Linked DNA regions of Homo sapiens: region 1 is linked to region 2. Evidence: promoter capture Hi-C in human tissues and cell types (Jung and others, 2019). All regions are on one chromosome and are shown on one strand. The core of a region is centred on a gene start or on the middle of the fragment in contact, and the rest is flanking DNA. Distances in the headings are between cores, read along the strand shown. Region 1 overlaps DGKE (diacylglycerol kinase epsilon). Region 2 holds the start of HSF5 (heat shock transcription factor 5).

Region 1 (6,394 bases), core at 1,223-3,722, 1.6 Mb before region 2:
GATGATAATTTTCAGTGTTTCGTCATGTTTAATAGAAATCAAACTGACTTGTGTTTTAAAATACAAGTTGTCTGCTAGTAAAGTTACATGATTTAGGTGTGTTTTAGGTTTTCTGCAACAATTAGCTGTGAACCCCTAATGTAGCTAAGTTTATACAAATTTTATAATCAAAATTATTTATTTTTATTTTTTTAGAGTATGTCAAAAACATATAGTGTTTGCTTTGTGAAATACATTTGCTTAGAGTTATAAAATATACTGTGACTCAGAAATTGTAAAGTCAGTTTGCGTTGTAAAAATGAATACTACCAGCATGTCAAAAGAAAAATAATTTACATTTGTAATATAAAGTAAAATTGTATTTAATATATTTATTGAATTTTAAATTTGCACTAACTTGAAAACTTTAAAGGTTATACTAATTTAATGATTAATGTGGACCCAAATACATAATTTGGCCAAAAAAGTCATTAGAATGGGTAATGGTTTTGTGTGGTTTTCCTTCAAAATGATAATATTGAAGCAAGAACCAGCATTTTATATTGATAATTTTTTTAATATTTCTACCCAGTTGAGGACAGTGGAATATAAGTAGATATATTTAAAATATCTAGATATTTAAAAAGAAAGAAAAGGTTGTTTATCCCAATCTGAATTCATTCTCAGCAACAAGACAGAAAAGGTGGTTTGGGTTTTGCTTTTAAACAGTGTCCCCCTGTCTTTTTCAATTTTTCCCTTGAAGCCTTTCTCTTGTTCTTCAGAGTACGCGCTGCAGGCTATCTGCAGCATCAGAATGCCTGGGCAGGCTGTTGAAAGTATGGATTCCTGAGCCCAACCCTTAACTTAATGATTCCCTGTCTCTGGAGATGCAACATAGAAATCTCTGTTTTTATTAACAAGCGCCTCAGGCGATTCTTAAGCATACTGAAATTTGAAAGCTTCTGGTCTGAACCTCATGTATTCACCTAGGGCTTTTGCTAGGTGGGATACCATGCCGAAAAATTGAATTAATTGTATGTTCTTAAAATTGTTTTTCTTCTACTCCGCTGTCCTCTTCCCTCAAAATCACTTTTCTAAAAGAACTCTATGAAAAACTTATTTGTATCATACCCAAATTGATATATTTGTCTGAACTCTGTTACATAAAAATTGGTATGATTCATATGTGGAATCAGTTTTTGGACTGTGACCCATGCAGTGTTGGGGGACAAGGAGTTGCTTCAGGAGTTAGTGCAGTGCGCCTCCAAGGGGCAGTGAGCCATGGAGGCGCCTGCCTTCTCACTGCAGTCAATGCAGCCACACTTGTGTATACTGAGTGCTGCTTCAGATCTCAGTAGATAAAATAATTCCACATTTAAAATGATTCTGCTATTTTTTATAAAGGGTTTGAAAGCCACTACTATAATGACTTTGTCACCTAATTGATTTTCTACTAATTTTTACATATTCAGAAACTTCGTGTTTTTTTGGTGGACAGAATATTTTGGAGGTCTCCGTCGCTGTTTAGAATGTGGCCACTTGGCTGTTTCACAGTTTTTAAAGCTATTTTATTGAATAGTAAAGCAGTGAACTTAGCCTTTGTTCTTTGTGTTTCTAATTTAAGCATATAGTCTATTTAATTTTTGATATGTAAATACACATCAATACATATATATTTACCCATGTGGCCCTGTGTAGTCAGTGCATGAGGCTTGCATAGCCCAGAAAGGTACATTCCAGGGTTCTGGGGAAAGAATTTTAAAATGCCATCCTCTAATACAGACGTTTATAAAACTTAAATGAAATGATTGGGCTTAACCATATGCAAGAAAGTCTGCAGAAAATAAATCACCTAGAAACTATAAATAGAAATGTGCTGCTGAGGCTGGGCACGGTGGCTCACACCTGTAATCCCAGCACTTGGGGGGCTAAGGGAGGCGTATCACCTGAGGTCAGGAGTTTGAGACAAGCCTGGTCAACATGGTGAAACGCCGTCTCTACTAAAAATACAAAAAAAATTAGCCAGGTACATTGGCACATGCCTTTAATCCCAGCTAATCAGGAGGCTGAGGCACGAGAATTGCTCGAACCCAGGCGGCAGAGCTTGCAGTGAGCGGAGATCACATGACTGCACTCCAGCCTGGGCAACAGAGCAAGACTCCATCTCAAAAAAAAAAAGGCCGGGCGTGGTGGCTCACGCCTGTAATCCCAGCACTTTGGGAGGCTGAGGCAGGTGGATCACGAGGTCAGGAGATCGAGACTATCCTGGCTAACACGGTGACACCCCGCCTCTACTAAAAATCCAAAAATTTAGCCGGGCATGGTGGCGGGCACCTGTAGTCCCAGCTACTCGGGAGGCTGAGGCAGGAGAATGGCGTGAACCCGGGAGGCAGAGCTTGCAGGGAGGCGGAGCTTGCAGCGAGCCGAGATAGTGCCACTGCAGTGGGGCCTGGGCCAAAGAGTGAGACTCCATCTCAAAAAAAAAAAAAAAGAAAGAAATGTGTTGCTGGTATCAGATATCAGACCAAGAACACTTCAGTCTCTCTAAGGATGCCCTGAGCTACCTCACTGTTAAAGGACGACATCAACACAGAATGCACTAAACAGGAAATAAGCTGTAATCTAGAGAATTTCCATTATGTGTTACTTTTTGGTGACTAACATGGAATGTTGAAAAGGAAGAGCTGGAAAGCTCAGTTGTTTTCCTTGTTCCTCTGACATTGTCCAGGCAAGAGGGCATCCTGATCAGATGAGTAGATTTGGCTGAGAAAAACCCTAGAGTAAGGCAGGCACTTTGTGGAGGTGGATGATGATGGCTCATAAAAACGTTTGTTCTCAGTCCAGTTCAGGGCTCTGCCAGCAGTCTTTCAGATCTGAACTGCTTAAACAAACCCTACAGATAAATTGGCACTCTGATTTGTAATTCTGTTTGTACAAGTTTAGAGCAGCCTAGCTCGAGTCCTCAACCCCAGTCCTCTTAGAAGTGAACTGATTGCACTGGATCCCTAAACCCACAATGTTGAGGACACATGTGATGACTCCACTTGCTCAGCCAGCTGGCCTCTTGCACTTTCCCCTGCCCACCACTTGTAACTACCACTTAATTATCTTGTGTTAATTGCTTTTGTTGTGTTGGGTCTGTATTTTTGTGGTCAGTGCCTGCAGGCAGAAATGTGAAAGCATTTGGTATGTTGAAGATACTTGCTTCTTTTTTAATAAAATTAAAAGTGCAGCACGTAAGTATGATACTGTGTAGTTTTTTGACACAACCATGAGATACAATAAGCAGCTTTGACTTAGTGTCCCAAAAAGTGGTTCTTGGTCTACAGCAGGGCAAACATATATGTGGCAAGTTCTGATCACATACTTTTAGACAGAAAGAATAAAAAATTCATATTGCATGGCTTTTGTAGCCTAAGAGCACAGAATCATACACGTGTGTTAGGAGAAACATTCATTCTCACGCATATAAACTGGCTCCTGGCAGAGTAGAGCAGTAAGTGGGATCAAAGGTGAATTCACCTTATTTTCAGTTGGTAGAGTATGGAAAAATGTATCACTTATTTGAAATACCTGAATGGAAACCCAGCCTCTACTACTGTAACTTAACACTTGTTCTTCCTGAGCCTCAAATTTTCTTTCTCTGTAAGAATGGGAATTAATGCCCACCTACGGGTTGCAAGTGCTTACAGGAGCTGGGCAAGCAACGAAGGTAAGAGTTGTAGAGACTTCGGTAAACTGGAGCACATGATTCCTGGGAAGCAGGCCTAGTGTAAACAATTTATTTTTCTAGAAAAGACAGAAGTTTAGAGTATATGAAATCTAATTTTTAAGTATTGGTTGGCAACTAATTGACTATCGTCTACCATAAGGTTATATGATAATTATTAGGGCAGGAGAGTGAATGCATCTTAATATGCATGGCAGAACTGTGTGTTTCCTTCCATCTGGATTTTCATAAAGCTTTCTGATTTATCAGTAACGATCTGAAAAATGTACTGTGGCATGTAACATCTTTTATTCATTTTATTAGGCATTAGAGGAAGAATATTCTGTAGTCCTGCTTTATTCTGCCATCTTTACCTGGAAATCCATTTTTATAAAATTTTTGTAATAAAAATTCACTTGATCACTTGCCTGCTTTCTTTTAAACAGTGCCAAGCGTAATGCCCCTTGATAATTTACATATATGTGAACGTGGCTGTGATAGCTGCTGATGTTCACACATAGGCCATCTTACATGTAATGATCCATGTTTGGACTTAAACAGCTTCACACATTTATTGTACAGTTAGGTGTCACATGCTTTTACTTTTTATTTTATAATCTGTATTTCTGTGAGGTAGACATTATTGGCTCCATGTTATATACATTGATAGCCCGGAGCTAGAGATTGAACCCAGGCCATCCTCCCCACTGCCTTTCATCATCAACACAACCACCACCAACAGTATTTTAAAAGTGTTAAATATTGGCAGACGTGTCATTGTTCTGAGCACTAGGACTAGGGCTTATGCGGCTGTCTGAGGAATTCCCTGTACAAGGAAACATCATATACCAAAAAGTTACTCATGGAAGGAGTTTGGAGATGATGAGCTAAAAGTATTACACATGGACTATTGTAAAAGAAAAAAAAGCAGGCACAATAAAATTTTAGAATGTACTTAAGAAGCAATTCGTGACTTGGGAAACCCCAAACCCAATGAGGATTTAGTGTTTCAATGACACAACATCAGAGGCAAGTATTCATAGAGTGCATACAGAAGCAAAATTAAGAAATGATTTGATTGGTTGCCTTTTTTGGCTTACTTTCTTGGAAAGTCCCCAGTCTCATGATCATGTTAGTTGGCTGCTTATGATTGGCTGAGGTTAAGTTTTGTATCTAACATAAGCATTTACCAAAAATGACCCAAGTTAAGTTTCATTTATGTTTACAGTTTAAGTAGGTTAGGGCTATTTTTAAGGCCTAGTTGGTTTGTTTGCTCAGGAATGTTTCAAGCCTAGTTTCCATTTTAATTTTGCTTTGACAGTTCCCCACTTTTAGTCACCCCGTCCGCAAGCTGAGAGTGTGACCAAATGGCATAGCATTACTCTCAGTTACCACTATTGACATAGTCTAGGAAGAAGAGTCAGATGTTTATCAATAGCTGCCCTAGGGCTCAGAGTCACCCTCGGGAATGACATAGTCCATGCTGGTTTCCTCCAGTTGTCTGATCCTTACGGCAATCTTTTGACATATGAGTGACTACTGGAAAGCACTTAAACATCCTTGAAAGGACCAGCCTCTGTGAATAACACCTGTAATCTCAGAACTTTGGAGGCCAGAGTAGGGGAATTGCTTGAGCAGGAGTTCAAGACCAGCTAGACAATGTAACAAGACCCCATGTCTACAAAAAAAAAAAAATTTTTTTTTAATTAGCTGGGCAGGGCTGGGTATGGAGGCTTACACCTGTAATCCCAGAATTGTGGGAGGCCAAGGCAGGTGGATTGCTAGAGCTCAGGAGTTCGAGACCAACCTAAGCAACATATTGAAACCCCATCTCTACCAAAAATACAAAAAATTAGCCGGGCGTGGTGGCACACACCTCTGGTCCCAGCTGCTCGGGAGGCTGATGGAGGAGGGTCACTTGAGCCTGAGAGGCAGAGGTTGCAGTGAGCCGAGATTGCGCCACAGCACTCCATCCTGGGTGACAGACTGAGACCTCATCTCAAAAAAATACAAATTAGCTGGGTAGTGCTCACTACAGCAGCACATATACTAAAATTGGAACAATACAGAGAAGGTTAGCATGGCCCCTGAACAAGGATGACATGCAAATTCATGAAATGTTCCATATTTTTACATATAAAAGCAAGCTGAATCCTGATCACCTTGAGTACATGTCATCAGGGACCTCCTGAGGCTGTGTCCCGTGCCCATGCATGTCCTTAATCTTGGCAAAATAAACTTTCTAAATTGGAAAAAAAAAAATTAGCTGAGTGTGGTGATGCACACCTGTAGTCCCAGCTACTCAGGAGACGGAGGTGGGAGGATCACTTTTGTCCAGGAGTTCCAGGCTACAGTGAGGTAGCATTGCACCACTGTACTCCTGCCTGGGTCAAAGAGCACGACACTGTCGCTCAAAAATAAATTTTAAAAATTATTGAGAAAATACAATGCACTGTGTTGGGTAAGCCATTGTGTATGGGTACCCACTGTGTATGGGTAAACACAATAACTACAAGAAGAATAATAGCAAAGGATTGAAAACCCTGAGTAAAGATTCCCAGGAGCCAAGATTTAACCAACTGAATAAATCAAGGGAGGCAGTGCTAATGAGATGAAAACCTTGTGTTCTTTAGGAACTTTTACATTTTGGGCAACAATATCAAATATAACAAACACTTAATGTTTTGTTAACATAAAAACACCGTA
Region 2 (6,988 bases), core at 2,995-5,494:
CTGACATACCTTCTGCACATACCAACAGGTAGAATGGTAAGGAAAAAAAAAAAAAACACCAAACAGGAAAGGCATGAAAACAATAACTTAGTTATATATGGATTGACATATAATCTATACTGAAAAACCATGAATTTATGTTTTTCAACAAACAGTAATCTTTAAATGCTGACCAACTGAAGTATAAGTGAATAAAATCAGATGCCAGATGGCCCTGAATTTCTTCAATTAAAATGGACTCTATCCTTAAAATACAACTGAGTTTAAGATAGTTGAGGGTAAAAGGTCAGAGAAGAGAAAAGAGCAAGTGTTGGTTTTTATGTGTGTGTGTATGCATGGATGTTTCTTTGTTTGAAGTGGTTATCCCATTTCTCCCAAAAACATATTTTCTAGTCTTTTCTCCTTATACCCACCAGACATGCAACCTGAAAAAAAAAAAATCCATGTCAGAGATTCTGCCAAATGTATGCCATGGTATTGTCTCCATTGCCTTGCCCCCTATCATTCCCTACCAAAATCAATGGCCATCACATGGAAGTGGCCTAATATTCCTTTAGGACATTCTTATGCCACTGCTGCTTTTTCAACTTACTGTTGGAACTTTAACCTAATCCCTTATCTTCTAAACTCCACAGTGGTCACATAACCTAGTTCCTTATCTTCTAAATTCCAAATGAACCAAGTACTGTTGTCATTCATAACCCTGGGCGAAGGTTAAGTTGAACATAGTGTTATTTTATTTGTACATTTAAACTTTTCCATTAACTCAAAAATAACCCAGATTTTTTTTTTTTTTTTTTTTTTTTTTTGAGACAGCGTCTCACTCTGTCGCCCAGGCTGGAGTGCAATGGTGTGATCTCGGCTCACTGCAACCTCCACCTCCCAGGTTCAAGTGATGCTCCTGCCTCAGCCTCCCGAGTAGCTGGGACTACAGGCACCCGCCACCACGCCCAGCTAATTTTTATATTTTTAATAGAGACAGGGTTTCACCATGTTGGCCAGGATGGTCTCGATCTCTTGACCTTGTGATCCGCCTGCCTGGGCCTCCCAAAGTGCTGGGATTACAGGCGTGAGCCACCACGCCCGGCCCCAGATTTCTTTATAGTAAATCCATGTTAACATGCTGAAAATGTTTTTATTTACTCTCCTAGCTGAAGGTGAAGAATGAATGAATGATTACACCCTGTTGGTTTCTTGGTATACTGCTTCATATCATGGACTCTTTAAACAGAGAAATGGAATATTGCCACCCTTGCCTTCCTGGAAGAGGGGGAAGAGCATCAAAAATCAAGTCTACAGGCCTGGCGCAGTGGTGGCTCACGCCTGTAATCCCAGCACTTCCAGAGGCCAAGGTGGGCAGATCACTTGAGCCCAGGAGTTCCAGACCAGCCTGGGCAACAGAGTGAAACCCTGTATCCACCAAAAATACAAAAAATTAGCTGGGTGTGGTGGCCACGCCTGTAGTCCCAGCTACTCGGGAGGCTGAGGTGGGAGGATCCCTTGAGCCCGGGAGGTGGAGGTTGCAGTGAGCCAAGATCTTGCCACTGCACTCCAGCCTGGGGGACAGAGTGAAACCCTATCTCAAAAAAAAAAAAAAAAAATCAAGTCTATAAAATAATTTGGCCATGTGAAGTGGCTCACACCTGTAATCCCAGCACATTGGGAGGCCAAGATGGGCGGATCACCTGAGGTCAGGAGTTCAAAACCAGCCTGGCCAACATGGTGAAACCCCATCTCTACTAACAATACAAAAATTAGCGAGGTGTGGTGGCAGGCACCTGTAAAATCCTAGCTACTCTGGAGGCTGAGGCAGAAGAATCACTTGAACCCGGGAGGCAGAGGTTGCAGTGAGCGGAGATCTTGCCATTGCACGCCAGCCTGGGCAACACAGTGAGACTTAATCTCAAAAAGTAAAATAGGCAGGGCGCAGTGGCTCAGGCCTGTAATCCCAGCACTTTGGGAGGCCAAGGCTGGCGGATCACCTGAGGTCAGGAGTTCGAGACCAGCCTGGCCAACCTGGTGAAACCTCGTCTCTACTAAAAAATATAAAAATTAGCCGGGCATGGTGGCACGCGCCTGTATTCCCAGCTACTCAGGAGGCTAAGGAATGAGAATTGCTTGAACCCGAGAGGCGGAGGTTGTGGTGAGCCGAGATCGCGCCATTGCACTCCAGCCTGGGTGACAAGAGCGAAACTCCGTCTCAAAAAAATAAACAAATAATAAAAAATAAATAATCCACTATCACAGAGGGTTTCTTAACTTTTACTAAATACAGATGTATACCAAAAAGTTTTTTCAATACTGAAAGATTGTAGCCAATAGTGAAAACTCCAAAGGCTGTAAATGTGAGCTTTCTAAAATTCTTTTTTAACTAAAACTTGACAGCTGTAAAGAAAACCATCTTTGCCTTATGTTTGTCTAATCATACCCCTTTAAGGAAGCATCAAGCTCTAATTTGCTTCAATGAAAGAAATGTGTAGCCAATTCATTCTACATAGGAACTATATCTTGTAAGCCACGATGTATCGTTGTATTTTTGCTCTTAAGGTATATAAACAACGTCTACCATTCTACACATTAACCAGAACCTTAAATCTGATGATTGTCGTAGCACTTCTAAGATTTCTTAGATGTGCCAATAGGTGGAAGGTGGCAGCCCTCTTCAAGGACAAATTTCCACTGCAGGCACCTTTTCCAAAACTTTCCCTTGCCTGCTATTGTAATGTTCTAAGTTCTCTCTTTTTTTTTTTTTTTTTTTTTTTGAGACCGAGTCTCGCTCTGTTGCTCAGACTGGAGTGCAGTGGCACTATCTCGGCTTACTGCAACCTCTGCCTCCTGGGTTCAAGCGATTCTCCTGCCTCAGTCTCCTAAGTAGCTGGGATTACAGGCGTGCACCACCATGCCTGGCTAATTTTTGTATTTTTAGTAGAGACGAGGTTTCACCCTGTTGGTTAGGCCGGTCTCAAACTCCTAACCTCGTGATGCACCCGCCTCGGCCTCCCAAAGTGCTGGGATTACAGGCGTGAGCCACCACGCCCAACCGTAATGTTCTAAATTCTCTTGACTACGATTTTGTTCCATCCCGCCTTAACCCGTAGGGTGACTCCACTCTGCTTCCCACGGGAGCAAAGGAGCCCCTTTTGTTTCTTCCAGACCCAATGTTTCAACGAAGGACTACTGAGTCCACATGTTTACAGTGGACAGTGTGGGTCTCAGGAAGGTAAACGGAGGCTTACAACCAGGTAAACTCCTGGGGTTCAAACCGGGGACGAGTAGAAGGGAGCCTAAGAGGCGGAGGTCCCTTTTGCTGCCAGTGGGCTCAGAAGGGGCCGAATGCTTACGGACCCTCCAGGGGAGGGCCGGTGGCCACCGTGCTGGTGCCGCTGAGAACGGCGGCGGTGGCGGGACCGCCAGTCTCGGGAAGCACAGCGGCCAATGGGTCCCCGGCGCCTTTCCGACGCCCATAGCGTGAGGACGTGCGAAAATGCGCCCTCCAGCGGCGGTTGCTCCCCGCCGCCCATGTGCCCACTGTGGGCGAGGGCACGGGCAGTCCGGACTCACCGTGCGGCTCGGGCCGGGGCCCCGCGGGCGGCGGCGGCTGCTGGTGCTGCAGTGGCGCGGTGGCGGCGGAGGCCGAGGTGATGAGCAGCCGCTGGAAGCGGTTGGGCGGGCGGCAGGGCACCTCCAGGCCGGCCGCCAGCTTGGCCTTGTTGGCGCTGGTGAGGCGCTTGAGGTGCACGAGCAGCTGTGGCTGGTCGCGGCGGAAGTGCGGGTTGTGGAAGTGATGGAGCGGCCCATTGCCTGCCGGTTTGCCGCCCCCCGGCCCGCCCAGCACCACCTTGCGGAAGCCGTAGAGGTTGAGCTGGCGGATGAAGCTGGTGAAGCTGGTGGTTTTGAAGAGCTCGGGCTCGGCCCCGGCCCCCGCAGTCCCGCCACCGCCCCCCGGCCCGGGCGGGCTGAGCAGCTCGGCCTCGAAGAGCGGCTGATCGATAAGCAGCCCCTCGCCGCGGCCGTCCCAGCGGATGGAGCGGTAGCGCGGGCTGTTCACCAGGCGCCACAGCTTGGCGGGGAAGTTGTTGGGGTTGATGGGGGTGGAGAGCAGCGCCTCCATCGCCCCGCCGGGCCGGGGCCTCGCCCCCCGAGCCTAGCTCTCCCACACCGTTCTCGATCCCTCCCCGGCCTTCGCCTCGCCCTGCCCGCTCCTGCCGGCGCCCATCCGCCGCGTACCAGGGACCGTTGGCGCACGAGGCCCCGCGGCGCCTCCCAGCGCGGCCAATGGGGCCTCGAGTTCCCGCCACGCGGCGTGGGCACCTCCCCCTCGGCGGCCGCGTGCCCCAGCTCGGCCCGCCGGACGCCTGCGGGACCCGGGCAGGAGCCCCTTCCCCAGGCGTTCCCAGACTTCAGGCCGGGAAGGCTGTCTGCCGGGGTGTTCTAAGTCCTGACAAGAGAGAAGCCCAGTTATCCACCGTGGAATACCAAGAGGCGTGTGTTTCGGCCCAGCCAACTAGTGGAGACTTGGAATGCAGAGAAAGTGTGCGTTAGGCAGCAGAGTTGGTCGTTCTGGGGACCAAAGGGTCTGGTCTGTAATCTTTGCTAACAGTGGAACTGCTTACCTCTCAAACAAAAATGATGCTACTGGAGGTATAATATCTTGAGTAAACGAACTCACCTTTTAGATAGTAGCCCTTTGTATCTTTTAAGATACACTCTTTTAAGTCAGTATTTGTTCAAGACAATTTACTCAAGGTTAGATGAAAACTGAGGTCCCTAGGAGGAGGGAATCACAAGAATCTAAGTACTATCTTGTGTGCCTGCCCAACTAGCTGGTGGCATTTTAGACATTAAAGAGAAATAAAGATGGGACAGAATTCTACGGTATCCATAAGAATCGATCCCTAGCCAATCAATAAATAAGAATGTAACAAGAGCTGTGCTGATTCAAAAAGAGAGGTTCATTTGAAAACGGAAATTGGCCGGGCGCAGTGGCTCATGTCTGTAATCCTAACACTTCGGGAGGCCGAGCTGGGTGGACTGCTTGAACCCAGGAGTTCGAGACCAGCCTGGCCAACATGGTCAAACCCTGTCTCTACTAAAAATACAAAAATTAGCCAGCGTGGTAGCATACCTGTAGTCCCAACTGTTCAGGAGGCTGAGGCAGGAGAATCGCTTGAACCCAGAAGGCGGAGGTTGCAGTGAGCCGAGATCGCACCACTGCACTCCAGCCTGGGGAACAGAGGGAGACTCCATCTCAAAATAAATAAATTGGAAATTGCTGGGAGAAAGGGGTACAATGTTCTACTCTTCTCATGGTCAAAGAATAAGTGAATATTAAGTTTTTTTAGAAATGAAAATAAAACGACCCAACAAAGCAGCACTAATATAGAGATTTTATTTAAACTGTATTGAATTTTTACAGCACATTGCATGTTTGTCACAACGCAACTGCACAGTTTGGATTTTTGGCCACATCATGTCACTTACACCCACAACAGCTCTGAAAGGAGTATTTGATGAACACATCTGAGCCAAGAGCCCAGAGTCTCTCTCCAAGGCCATGCAGTTTGTTCACTGATGGGACAGTCCCTCAAAACAGCCACGCTAAGTAGACAGATACAGTCTCCCCAAATGTTACCAATCTTACTCCCCTTGAAAACAGGCAGAGTGAAGTGCAATGAAAGACAAGTTAATTAAAAAGCCACTCACAACTGGCAGTAAATTTTAATGATTGATAAAATGCTTAAAATAATTTTATGTATCAGAAACAAGGAACAGCTTGTTACTTTTTCAATGATCTCAGGAATTTTGCAGACACAAAATCTCCATTATTCAGCTCCATTTAAATGAAAAAAAAAGTTCCGCTAGGCTGACCTAAATATGCCAAAACTTTTTAGGTTACATCTATGGCAAGTACAAAAGAACCACAGATGCGTCTCTGTAGGACTGAAAAGGTCAGGACAAATAATGATTCTTGTTCTAAATGCAGATCCTAGTTATTTTGGAATGAAATGCTGTTTTCTAGAAAGCAACATGAAAGTAGCAGTAAGAAAGATGACTACCATCATTTCAAAACAGGATAAGCCTAAATATAATTTACCATTTATATGTCAACAAATTAAGGAAAACTGTATAAAGTCCTAGTGGTTTCATTATAGGCCAAGGAGACTGTATCTGTCCCACCCACAGTACATGGCTATATCACTGTATCTTTTGGTTAAGTGCCACTGGTACATATTAAGATGAAAAAAAACAAAAACAAAAACAAAAAAACAAAATAAAATTTTTTAAAAACCAACAACGTTTGGTCCAAATGGACACATGTTCTTTCCCAATTTTGGTATCAAGGCTTTATTCTCTTCTGTTTGGGTTCCATTGTTAAGTGCACAGAAATAGACAGCAGCATTTGTACTGAAACCCTCACATACCAAACAGCATATGCTAGGAGGTAAAAACCAAACGCTAAATTCTACCCTCAAGGTGTCAAGTGTTCAGGATAAGAAGCAATGTGACCCAGAGGAGGCATCAGCCAAGGGAAAGACAACATGGGGGAAATGGGCAATGGAACAACAACAACGAAAACCTTTGTTTTATTTTCATGCCAGGAGAGGATCAAGGTGTAGCTCCTGTGTTAGCACCAGGACAACTAGGAAAAGTCAGGTGCAAAGAGTAGGGCACAATCAGCAGATATTTCACAAGGATAATTTTTGCTTTTCCCTTCTCATTCTTCACAGTGCATAACTCAAGAGCTGCCACTGTGTAACAGAGACGACTGCCTTCACAGCTCAAAATAACTCAATGTTTGCCAGGACCGAACATCAGCAGAGTTTTCCTCTGCTCCCAAAAATGTCTCACTCCCTAGAACTGTTCCCCTAAACTGAATATTCACCAATGCTGGCTGATGAGCCAACTGAAAAATACATTGAAACCTCCACTTGCTGAGCCAGTCTTCAAACCAAACTCCACAGAAAGACAGTACTAATGCAACTAGAAG

The links. Contacts are between HindIII fragments. The study calls those that stand out against the background at their distance.
Region 1: a contact is called between a fragment that was not itself captured here and the fragment with the promoter of HSF5 in region 2, in 1 of the 25 tissues and cell types used here (spleen).

Annotation. Positions count from the first base shown.
Region 1 is chr17:56,865,457-56,871,850 of GRCh38, forward strand. It overlaps DGKE (diacylglycerol kinase epsilon), which reads left to right. Exons shown (of 12, transcript NM_003647.3): 12 at 1-4,111. All of the region lies in intron 1 of LOC124904037 (a long non-coding RNA gene), which reads right to left. It also overlaps the pseudogene RNU6-1158P. Among named protein-coding and RNA genes, the nearest start is that of MIR3614, 23 kb to the right of the region's middle. The HindIII fragment of the contact is 5,394 bases long and covers 1-5,169 here.
Region 2 is chr17:58,484,164-58,491,151 of GRCh38, forward strand. HSF5 (heat shock transcription factor 5) reads right to left here and starts at 4,245. Exons shown (of 6, transcript NM_001080439.3): 1 at 3,562-4,245. The coding sequence starts at 4,111. MTMR4 (myotubularin related protein 4) reads right to left here. Exons shown (of 18, transcript NM_001378067.1): 18 at 5,374-6,988. RefSeq lists silencers at 3,527-3,646, 3,907-3,956. The HindIII fragment of the contact is 20,222 bases long and covers 1-6,988 here.